Regions from separate parts of the Homo sapiens genome. Here region 2 is linked to region 1. The links are contacts of gene promoters, found by promoter capture Hi-C in blood cells and fetal thymus (Javierre and others, 2016). All regions are on one chromosome and are shown on one strand. The core of a region is centred on a gene start or on the middle of the fragment in contact, and the rest is flanking DNA. Distances in the headings are between cores, read along the strand shown. Region 1 holds the start of FZD8 (frizzled class receptor 8). Region 2 has its middle 440 kb from the start of ANKRD30A.

What was found. The method cuts DNA at HindIII sites, captures the fragments that hold promoters and counts their contacts. A CHiCAGO score of 5 or more calls a contact.
Region 2: a fragment that was not itself captured here is called in contact with the fragment with the promoter of FZD8 in region 1 in 1 of 17 cell types (naive B cells); the score reaches 5.0 in naive B cells.

The regions. Positions count from the first base shown.
Region 1 is chr10:35,639,952-35,645,562 of GRCh38, reverse strand. It overlaps FZD8 (frizzled class receptor 8), which reads left to right and starts at 3,267. Exons shown (of 1, transcript NM_031866.3): 1 at 3,267-5,611. The coding sequence starts at 4,134. It overlaps LOC124902528 (zinc finger protein 469-like), which reads left to right and starts at 2,717. Exons shown (of 2, transcript XM_047426128.1): 1 at 2,717-2,933; 2 at 3,150-3,835. The coding sequence starts at 2,717. The coding sequence ends at 3,835. MIR4683 (microRNA 4683) reads left to right here and starts at 4,311; the gene lies at 4,311-4,391. LOC105376494 (a long non-coding RNA gene) reads right to left here and starts at 2,248. Exons shown (of 2, transcript XR_930820.3): 1 at 647-2,248. RefSeq lists silencers at 4,719-4,808, 5,348-5,611 and an enhancer at 4,919-5,078. The HindIII fragment of the contact is 11,239 bases long and covers 1-5,611 here.
Region 2 is chr10:36,686,983-36,692,534 of GRCh38, reverse strand. No RefSeq gene overlaps it. Among named protein-coding and RNA genes, the nearest start is that of ANKRD30A, 440 kb to the left of the region's middle. The HindIII fragment of the contact is 192 bases long and covers 2,351-2,542 here.

The sequences.
Region 1 (5,611 bases), core at 2,018-4,517:
ATTCTGTTAGTATATGCCAGGCTCTCTCTTCCATCCAGATTCTTATATTGGATTTTTAGATGGTAATCCACTGGAACATGATTTCCCCAAAGTTTCTTAAATTTGTTACAGACAGTATTGATAGTCCCCTGTCTAACTCGGTAGCCAACGTTTTGTAAAACCTTCCCTCCTCTGAGGTAGATTCCTGATTCCAACTGTTTACATTATTTGCTTGCAGGCCATTCAGCAACAAGCCATCTGCTCAGAAATCCCTTTAGAAACTTCCCTACATTATTTATGTCACTACTAAAGCTATTTCCCCTCCCCTAAAAAACAGCTGCTTTACATACAATGAAAATATCATTATTTAGCCATAGAAGTTGATATATGTTCTGGTTACTTCTAGGTAACCCATCATTACCTTTTACGCACTAATTGGCTACAGAAGTCTCTCCCTTCTCTGAAAGACTACCAAGTAGCCGTTTAATTTAACAGTAGATGTAAAATGCGATTCTTATATTCTCTCAATTAAAAGTACATTTGTCATGACTTTTATGTAACTGGTTTTAACCTCACAAATCACTAAGATCTCCCAAATAGCTGATATGATTTTTGAAATTCTGAACTTCAGTCTGCTTATTTTCTCATGCAAACTTAACATACTTACCCAAAATTTCCACATTCCACATCATCAAACTTTTCATCTTGTCTCAAAAGAAAAAAGAAAAAAAATTTAAAGCCAATTAAGAGCCAAAATCAACCATTTTCAGCTTCAATTTCAATTTTCAAATGTCAGTTTGTTTTTACCCAATTCTAGCAAATTTATGTAGTGTAATTCTAAACTTCACTATTTGACATTTCCCCGTGGAAGAAAAGCAACAGAAACTTTTCACCATCTGTGTTGCTCTTGGAAACCAGCCCCTCCCATCTGTGGTGCGGGCAGTGCAGCACCCTTGCTGGTCTTTGGGGCTCTGCCTGCACCGCTGCCCTCAGATCAGCACTGGAACCTCTGGCAATTACCTGCAGCTGATGCGTTCTGGAGACTCGCCCTCTGGAAACAAGGTGCCAACCGCAGAGATAGTGAATTTCTACATTCAACATACAAGTGGGAATTCCGATTTGCAGGAGGTGAGAAAAGAAAAAAAATTTTTTAATCAAGTAAAGGTCTAGTCTGTATTTTTGAATAGCCCGTTTTCTGCTGAATCAGCTAATATTTCTGAAGCCTTTGAATTCCGAATTCCTACGGACTTTAGTTTTTCCAAAACAAAAGTGGGAAGGAAGTGTTGTTTTTCAGTATAAAGAGGTTCAACTCTATAGACTAAAACTAAAAAAGTTAAAAAGATAGGGGGGTATAACTATAGATTGGTGGATATGCCTAGAACACAGAACTTGCCAAAAACGGGGCGCTGGGGCAGGGTGCGGTCTGACAGTCTACTTGTAATATGTTTCATAATGAGGTTGCTAACTGAGCTACAGAAAGCAGGAGGAGGAAGACATAGATGCCATCAGCTCAAGCAATCTACAAATACTGCTGGTTATTTTTGTTTTATGACAAGAGTTGTTTCTGAACGGACAACCACGAGCTACCACCACCACCAGCAGCGCCCCGAAAACCGGAACTGGCCTCAAATGTACTTTTAATTCTTTTGCTCTGTCCCCACGCCCTCTGCAACTTTTGTTCTCCAACTGTACTTGTTCCGGTATGAAACCTGGCAAATAGCAAAAATCTTGAAACAAGAAGAGAGTGAGAGAGCGGAGAGAAAAGGGAGGGAAGGAAGGAGAGGGAGGAGGGGAAGAGGAGGAGGGGGGAGAGAAAGTGGTGGGGGAGAGAGAGAAGGAAAGGAGGTGGGGAGAGAGAGAGAGGGAAGACAGAAGAGAGGCAGGGAGGAAGAGGGAGAGAGGGGGACGGAGATGGGGAGGAGGCGGGAGGGAGGGAGAGAAAGAGAGAGAGAAACATATTCTGCCACCCTCCTGGCTAACTGAAATGCTTGTTCCCGAGATTACAGTAATTACTGCCCCAGCATGAGTTCCATACAAGCGCTAAATGAAACAGCACATCAATTAAAAAATAAACACTCCATTCTAGGAGAAAGACAGCCCCCTGGGACGCCCTAACAAGCGTAAATGAACCTGCCAGGCCGCCGGCCCGGGCCGCCCGCAGCCCCCCTCCCGGCCCGTCTTAAGGTGGCGGCGGAGCCGGCGGGGGCAGCGTTCGCTGGCGGTGGCCCAAGCGGCTGCTAAAAGCAGCCCGGGTCCGGCTCCGGCCTCGTGCAGAGAGCAGATACGTGTCGCGGAGTCCACGCCAGAGCGCAGCGCCGCCTCCCACCAGAGAAAAGGAGGCTCTGGCAAAAGCCTGTGAACTTGGGATGGATGAATAGACGTCCTGAAAGAACGAAGGGAAGACAGGGAATCCAGCCCCAGAGTTTCCAGCCTGTCCTATTTATAAGTTTCGAGGTTTGTTTTGAATTTTAGAAAGAAATTGAATGATTTTTCCTAAGAAAGCACGGCGGCTCGGGGCTTCCTATATTTTATCTCACCTAATTATCAAAGCCCCCTTGGAGATCTGTGCTATGATCACCCAACTCTCTAGGTGGGGAAACTGAGGCTCCCCCAGGTCACGCAGCGGAGGCGGGAGGAGAGTCTCTGGCGGGCATTTGTCCCCCGCGCCCCTCGCGCGCCCAAGGCTGGGCTCCGGGGCATCTCACCCGGGCCGTCCCGGGTCCAGCCCCAGTTTAGAATGACTCCACACCCCCCACATCTCCAAGTCTCAGAAACCATCGTTCTGAGAACCCCAAGGAGGACACCCTTTCCCGGGTCTTCTGCAGCGCCGAGCCCCGGCAGGCCTCCCCGGCGCTCGCCTGCTGCGAGACCTTCCTGCCGCCCCGAGGAGCACGAGACCCCAGCCGCCTGCAGATCACCCACATTTGCGGAGGGTGGCAGCAGGGGCTTGGCTGGTTTGAAACGCGCCGGGGAGGCGCGCGCTGCACCAAACCCCGTCCCTGTCCCCAAGGGCAGACTCGGGGTAAGGGGACCAAGACCTCCGACGCACTCAGCGCCATGGGGACAGCCATGGCCAACACTCTGTCTCTGCGGTCAATCCCAAGGTTACCAAAACTCTCCATCCGCAGAGAGCGCGCACAGCAGTGCGGACACTCGGGGACTGCCTTAAGGAAGGCTGAGCCCTGGGAGCGCGTGGACTCCGCCCTACCGCCCGGCGATTGGCTCGCGGGGCTGGGGGCGGAGACCGAGTCCGCGCTGTATAAATATTCATGAGCCGGCAGCGCGGCGCGAGCGGGGCTGGAGCCGGGAAGTTGGGCTAAGGGCGCTGCTCCCGCCGAGGAGGAGGCGGCGGCTGGGCGCGGGCCGCGCCACTCAGGTGTCCGCTCCGCCTTCCGGTCTGGATTTGCTCCTGGGTGTCCAGCAGGAAGGAGACTGTGTGCACCTCGCCCGACTGCGGCCGGAGCGCGGCGCTGACTTTTCCAGGCGGCGGGGGTCCGTCTGTCCCGGCGGCGGACGGACGAAGGACGGACGCCGGAGAAAGAGGGCGGCGGCCTGGGCCGAGGCGGGTCCCCAACTCCGGCGGCGGCGGCGGCGGCTTGGCCTTGGGGGCGGGCATGAGCCCCCGGGGGCCGAGTGGTGGCCGCCAGGGCTGACCCGGCGCGGCAAGCGGCCCGGCCCAGCCATCTTGACTGCGCACCGCGGCCCCAGAGGAAACTTGCGGCGCCTCCGCCCTCTCTGTCCGGCGGAGTCACCGCCGCCCGGCGCGGCGGGGAGAAGTGGTCGGGCGCGCGGAGAGGAGGCGAGCGAGCGCGGGACGATGAGCCGAGGCCCGGCCGCTCTGCGCCGCGAGGGCTGAGCGCGACCCGGGGCCAGCAGAGCGGACCTACGGACTGTGGCGCGCGCCTGCAGCCGCCTTCAAACCCCCGGAGCGGCGGAAAGGAGTGCGGAAGGGCCCTGCCCAGGCTGCGGGCCGCGCCGCTGCGGACGCGCCCCTAGAAGGGGTTAGATTATCGGCAGACCCCCCTCCCGGGCGAAGCATAAGGGAGACCCCAGATCACCCGCTGTACCCGTCTGCGGCTCTCTCGTGGGCCCCCCCCCCGGCACCCCTCTGCGCGCCGCCTGGAGGGCGAGGGCACCGGGCCGAGGCGCACAGCATGGAGTGGGGTTACCTGTTGGAAGTGACCTCGCTGCTGGCCGCCTTGGCGCTGCTGCAGCGCTCTAGCGGCGCTGCGGCCGCCTCGGCCAAGGAGCTGGCATGCCAAGAGATCACCGTGCCGCTGTGTAAGGGCATCGGCTACAACTACACCTACATGCCCAATCAGTTCAACCACGACACGCAAGACGAGGCGGGCCTGGAGGTGCACCAGTTCTGGCCGCTGGTGGAGATCCAGTGCTCGCCCGATCTCAAGTTCTTCCTGTGCAGCATGTACACGCCCATCTGCCTAGAGGACTACAAGAAGCCGCTGCCGCCCTGCCGCTCGGTGTGCGAGCGCGCCAAGGCCGGCTGCGCGCCGCTCATGCGCCAGTACGGCTTCGCCTGGCCCGACCGCATGCGCTGCGACCGGCTGCCCGAGCAAGGCAACCCTGACACGCTGTGCATGGACTACAACCGCACCGACCTAACCACCGCCGCGCCCAGCCCGCCGCGCCGCCTGCCGCCGCCGCCGCCCGGCGAGCAGCCGCCTTCGGGCAGCGGCCACGGCCGCCCGCCGGGGGCCAGGCCCCCGCACCGCGGCGGCGGCAGGGGCGGTGGCGGCGGGGACGCGGCGGCGCCCCCAGCTCGCGGCGGCGGCGGTGGCGGGAAGGCGCGGCCCCCTGGCGGCGGCGCGGCTCCCTGCGAGCCCGGGTGCCAGTGCCGCGCGCCTATGGTGAGCGTGTCCAGCGAGCGCCACCCGCTCTACAACCGCGTCAAGACAGGCCAGATCGCTAACTGCGCGCTGCCCTGCCACAACCCCTTTTTCAGCCAGGACGAGCGCGCCTTCACCGTCTTCTGGATCGGCCTGTGGTCGGTGCTCTGCTTCGTGTCCACCTTCGCCACCGTCTCCACCTTCCTTATCGACATGGAGCGCTTCAAGTACCCGGAGCGGCCCATTATCTTCCTCTCGGCCTGCTACCTCTTCGTGTCGGTGGGCTACCTAGTGCGCCTGGTGGCGGGCCACGAGAAGGTGGCGTGCAGCGGTGGCGCGCCGGGCGCGGGGGGCGCTGGGGGCGCGGGCGGCGCGGCGGCGGGCGCGGGCGCGGCGGGCGCGGGCGCGGGCGGCCCGGGCGGGCGCGGCGAGTACGAGGAGCTGGGCGCGGTGGAGCAGCACGTGCGCTACGAGACCACCGGCCCCGCGCTGTGCACCGTGGTCTTCTTGCTGGTCTACTTCTTCGGCATGGCCAGCTCCATCTGGTGGGTGATCTTGTCGCTCACATGGTTCCTGGCGGCCGGTATGAAGTGGGGCAACGAAGCCATCGCCGGCTACTCGCAGTACTTCCACCTGGCCGCGTGGCTTGTGCCCAGCGTCAAGTCCATCGCGGTGCTGGCGCTCAGCTCGGTGGACGGCGACCCGGTGGCGGGCATCTGCTACGTGGGCAACCAGAGCCTGGACAACCTGCGCGGCTTCGTGCTGGCGCCGCTGGTCATCTACCT
Region 2 (5,552 bases), core at 1,197-3,696, 1.0 Mb before region 1:
AGCTGCTGGACTCCTCTCCAACGGCCCCCGCTAAACTCCTCTGGGTGTTAGATGTTCCTCCTCTTCTCTCTTTCTCTGCCGCATCCCTTCTCCAACCATCGCTGATCTGGTGGCTTACTGGTCGGCTTCTGGAGCCTGGGGTTCAGGGTATATATGCATGGGTGCAGGATAGGGGGTGTGGCAGGACAAAAGGCAACTTTTGGGTTGTGAAAACAGGAATGCTTGTTCTCATGTAGGGCCGAGGGTATCCAGGCTTGAGGGTGGGGCCTTTGCCTGGGAACTGCTCCTTTCTACTCAGTTTTCCCTGTCTCCTGTCCGTATCAGTGACAAACCAGAAATGAAAGCCACTGAGCAGTGGTTTTAATCCCTTACTCTTATGGTATCACCAAGAGTCTGAAACAGAGTGCTGGGTCTGCCCTACTCTACCTTCCCCTATGGATTGGTGCAATGGCTGAGGGCCAGGTGGATCAGCATGATGTGGAGATTGCCTCAAGTAAAAGGCTAGTGCAATATTACAGACCCTGCGACTGGGGACCACCAGGAGGATGGAGAAAGGGAAGGGCACGGGTGGAAAGTACTGAGTATTGAGTCAGAGTAGGAAAAAGTGGCTTGAAGCTTTCCCCCTTTCTCTCGGATAAATTCTCAGCAGAGGCCAGTGAAGAAGACTTCTGCTCAAGGCCTCAGATAGAGAGTTCCAGGAATGGACAGGTCTGGGCTAGGAATATGCCCAAGAGCATGCCTGGCCCAGAGGCCCCTGAGTCCCTGACATCAACTCCCATTAGAACTGCATTGCACTGGCGGGGCGCAGTGGCTCCCACCTGTAATCCCAGTACTTTGGGAGGCTGAGGCAGGAGATCATGAGGTCAGGAGATTGAGACCATCCTGGATAACACAGTGAAACCCTGTCTCTACTAAAAATACAAAAAATTAGCTGGGCGTGGTGGCACGCAACTGTAGTCCCAGCTACTCGGGAGGCTGAGGCAGGAGAATCACTTGAACCCGGGAGGCAGAGGTTGTAGTCAGCTGAGATTGCACCGCTGCACTCCAGCTGGGTGACAGAGCGAGATTCTGTCTCAAAAAATAATAATAATAATAATAACTGCAATGCACTGGCTGTGCACCAAGCCTGGTGTGGGGAGGGTAGCTCTCCTGTGTGAAGCCTGCCAGGTAAAGGCATCGGACTTGCCTGTGGACAGTCTTGGAAGATCACATGCAGGTTAACCAGGAGCTAGAATCCCAGTGTGAACCCATATTTCTGCCTGCTGTATTCTTCCTTTCTGATGCTCCAAGGTTCTTTATTTTATTGTTTCCTTTGTGTGTTTGAGAACATCCTTAGCCATTCTTTTAGGATAGGTCTTCTCGTGACAAATGATCTGAGATTGTCTTCATCTGAGAATATCTTTATTTCCCCTTCATTCTTGAAGATTATTTTTATTAAGTACTGAAATCCAGATGACAGGCCTTTTTTTCAGCAATTAGAAAATACTGTGCTACTTTCTTCCATCTTCCATGGTTTCTGATGAGGAATCAGCTATCATTCAAACTGCTTTTGCTTGATAGGTAAGGTAGTGTTTATCTCTTGCTGTTTTCAAGAATTTTTGTCTTTAATGTTTAGAAGTTTATCTATGATTTGTCTGGGTATGGTTTCTTTAGATTTACGCTTTTTTTTTTTTTTTTTAGACAGAGTTTCGCTCTTGTTGCCTAGGCTGGAGTACTGTGGCACCATCTCGGCTCACTGCAGCCTCCGTCTTCCGGGTTCAAGCAATTCTCCTGCCTCAGCCTCCCAAGTAGCTGGGATTATAGGCATGTGCCACCATGCCTGGCTGAATTTTGTATTTTTAGTAGAGACGTAGTTTAATCATGTTAGCCAGGCCGGTCTCGAACTCCTGACCTCAGGTGATCCACCCACCTCGGCCTCCCAAAGTGCTGGGATTACAGGCGTGAGCCACCACGGCTGGCCATCCTCTTTTGAATCCCCTCAACTTCTCCAATCTGTACATTTATGCCTCTTGCCAAATATGAGAAGTTTTCAGCCATTATTCCATAAATTATTGTCTTCAGCCTGGCCCTCTTTCTCCTGTCTCAGTTGGAATTTCAATAATGTGAATGTTAGATCTTTCTTATATACCACAGATCCCTGAGACTTTGTTCTTTTTTTAAATTTCTATATTCTTTCAGTCGTTCACATTTGATAATTATATTTTCCCTCTTCCAGTTCACTTACTCTTTCCTCTATTTCTTCATTCTGGCACTAACCCCATTCACTGTGCCTTTAAATTAACTGTATATCTTTTAATTCTAAAATTCCCATTTGGTTCTTCTTTATGTCTTCTGTTTCTTTGCTGAAGCTTTCTACTTTTTGTTTCTTTAAAGATTGTTTGTGATGGTTAGTTGAAGTATTTTTATTAGGACTGCTTTAAAATCTTTCTCAGATAGTTGTATCATGTCTGTTATCTTGATATGGGCATGGGCCAATTGTCTTTTTAATTCAGTTTGATATCCTCCTGATTCTTGGTATGATGGGTGATTTAATATTGAAGCTTGGACATTTTGTATTATGTCATAAGACTCTGTATCTGTTTAAATCTGCCGTTTTATCTGGCTTTTTCTGATACCAGTCTGGCAGGAGGAGAGGGAGGCACCACCTTATTACTTCCAGATAAGGCAGAGTTCAGGTTTACCACTCAGACCCCATGACACCAGATGAGAGGCTGTGTAAGGGTGGATGGTCCTGCTCCTCTGTGTCCCCCACTGTCATCATGGAGTGAGTGGCCTTGTTACCACTGGGCAATGATGACTGTGCTAACTCTCTAATAAGATGCCTCTGTCACCAACCCACCAGGGAGGGTGAGGATTGTCTTGTTACAGATGGATGGGGGTAGAATTCCAAGTTCTCATGTAGTCTCCACCAACTCTTTGAGAACGCTTGTTTCCAGCAGGTGAGGATAAATATCATGGCTCGCTACTTGCCTTCTCTGACAACCCTGCAGGGATTTAAGGCACCTCATCACAACTGGTGAGGGTGGCAGTCTAGGCTCCTCTCATGGCCTTTGATGGTATGGTTGGAGTTGGGGTCACGTGTTTGTTTGTTTGTTTTTTCTGTTGTATTTGTCTAGAATATAAAATATTTTCCCAGAGTTTCTTTTCCTGCTACACCGCCCCTTTTGTGGTCCTCTGGCTAGGAGAGCAGCCTTTTGTTGGGGGTTGTATTGTCTCTGCCCTTGGCATTTCCAAACTGCTGCCTTCTTTAGCTCCAAGTCATGGTTATATGAGGCAGAAAGCAAACCTGGAAACTCACCACCATATGTCATTCTTTGTGTCCCAAGTTGCCCAGCTCAGTTACCTTCTTCTCCCCACCTTCCAGAGTCTCCTTGTGTTTGTTGAATATGTAATTTTCAGGGTTGTTAGCGGGAAGAATAGCGAATAGCAGGTCTACTGCAATTTGCAGAATCAGAAGTCATATTTTGTTAGTTTATTGTTTTCTTGTTTTTCTCTTAGGGGAGACTGGAAGGCTGGAGGGGGCTGAAGTAGAAAGAATTCCAGTTCTTCAACTGGAATAACACTCTGACAAAGCTCTTTCCCCTGGAGGGTAAGCCTTTGTTATGGAAAAATCCCTGGTGCATTTCATAAGATTTCCTTTTTCCTTCTCCATGCCAGAGCTGAGAGAGCATCTTTCCTGGCTCCTTCTCCTGAGAACCTGATTGAGTACCTGGAGGTAAAGCCTGGGAAATCCTGGGGATCCAGTTAAAGCTCCAGGTCCAGAAGATTTTTGCTCTCACACTAGTCCACACAGTCTCCAACAATTTTTAAAAATGACCATTTATGTGTTTCTACCAATTTAAGTCTCCACTGGCTTCTCTCCAGATAAGCAGATCTCAGCTGCCTGTGGCATTTGGGATGCTCTTGTCTCTAAATTTCAGAGTGGTAGTTTGTGCTGCAGCTTCAGTCCTCTAATGGGTCCTAGAAAAGTGGTTGATACTCATTTTGTTCACCTTTTTCTGTTTTACAATCAATTTTTGAGTGTAGATGTATAAAATATATTTTGGTGCTTCTTGGTAGAGATTTTAAAATGGCAGTGATGAATGTAACATGGAAATAGAAAACCAAAACACAGACACAGTCAAATATAAGGCAAATATCTTCACAGAAAAGAAATGTATCCAAAGCACAAAAAATTGGAGAAAGGGCTAACATTTATGTCTTCCTGAGGTCTGGGTCCTGAATCAGGTAGCAGCAGCACAACTTTTTTTTCTTTTTTTTTTAAGTTCTGGGATACACGTGCTGAACGTGCAGGTTTGTTACATAGGTATACATGTGCCATGGTGGTTTGCTGCATCTATCAACCCGTCATCTAGGTTTTAAGGAGTACAACTTTTAAAGTCTGTTTTCCCAAAGATTGTTGCTTAGTATGTATTAATGCTTCATTGAACTACATTCTACATTTATCTAGGTGCCTATGTGTAAGCATTTCTCTAGAGAATACAGCTAACAAAGGAATTGCTGAGTTACGGGACAATGTACCTTTTGAACTTTTCTGGCTGTTGTCAAATTGGTTTCCAAGTTTTAACAATCTATACTCCACAAGCAGAGTTATGAGAATTTCTGTATCTCCATGTCTTCCCAAAACAGGTGTTGTCAGACACTCCCCACCTCATGTAATGGAAGTATTGTGGTATTTCCTCATTCTCATTTGCATATCCTTGATCACAGAGATTGAATCGTTTTTTAAAATAGGGATTTTGGATTTTGTCTTTTGTGAACTTGCCTGTTTATACCTGTTGCCCATTTTTAAAAATGGGTTTCTTTCATGCTTATGGCTTTAGGAATTCCCCACACCTTCTTCATCCTGGCTACAATCTGAGTTCCCTCCTGAGCACTTTACTGACACTGTGCCAAGGTCATGTGTGTAATTCCAAATCCCACACACACTCTGGGTTCTCATCCCACTCAGTACATCCGCATTATTCATGAAGTTGACTACCCCCTTCTTTTTGTCAGTTTTTCTCTCTTGAAATTTGTGGCTTCTTACTTTCTTTTTTCTATTCCCTTTCCTTTTGATTCCCCTAGAGATTATGATTTTTTTAAACCTATGAATTATCAATGCCAAGAACATTGTGCAGCATGTATGGAATAATTAACCAATACATTTAAGTGCATAGTTTCCAGTGAATCATTTGCAATAGAATCAAGATACACATTGCAGCTCTTGTCCTGGGTCTCTCCTCAGCTCAAAGGGGCATCCGTGCAAGTGTCTAGGGTTCCATCCAGGTTTGACATCCTATTAATTACCACGAAGCTTTGTTCTTCCCTTTCCCCTAAATGTATTAATCAGGTGTTGCAATCAGTGGACTTTTTAAATGAACTTTGATTCTGAAACTTGGTAATGTTTATTCTAACAAGCTTGGGTATAGCCACCAGCAATTCTGTTAAATTATGAAGTGAGTATGTGATGTACTAAAATAGTATCTAGAAGAGATCATCACACTCTCTTACCCTGGTAACTAAGATAGAATTCAAGGCCAGCTATCCACAGGAAAATAGTGATTATTTTA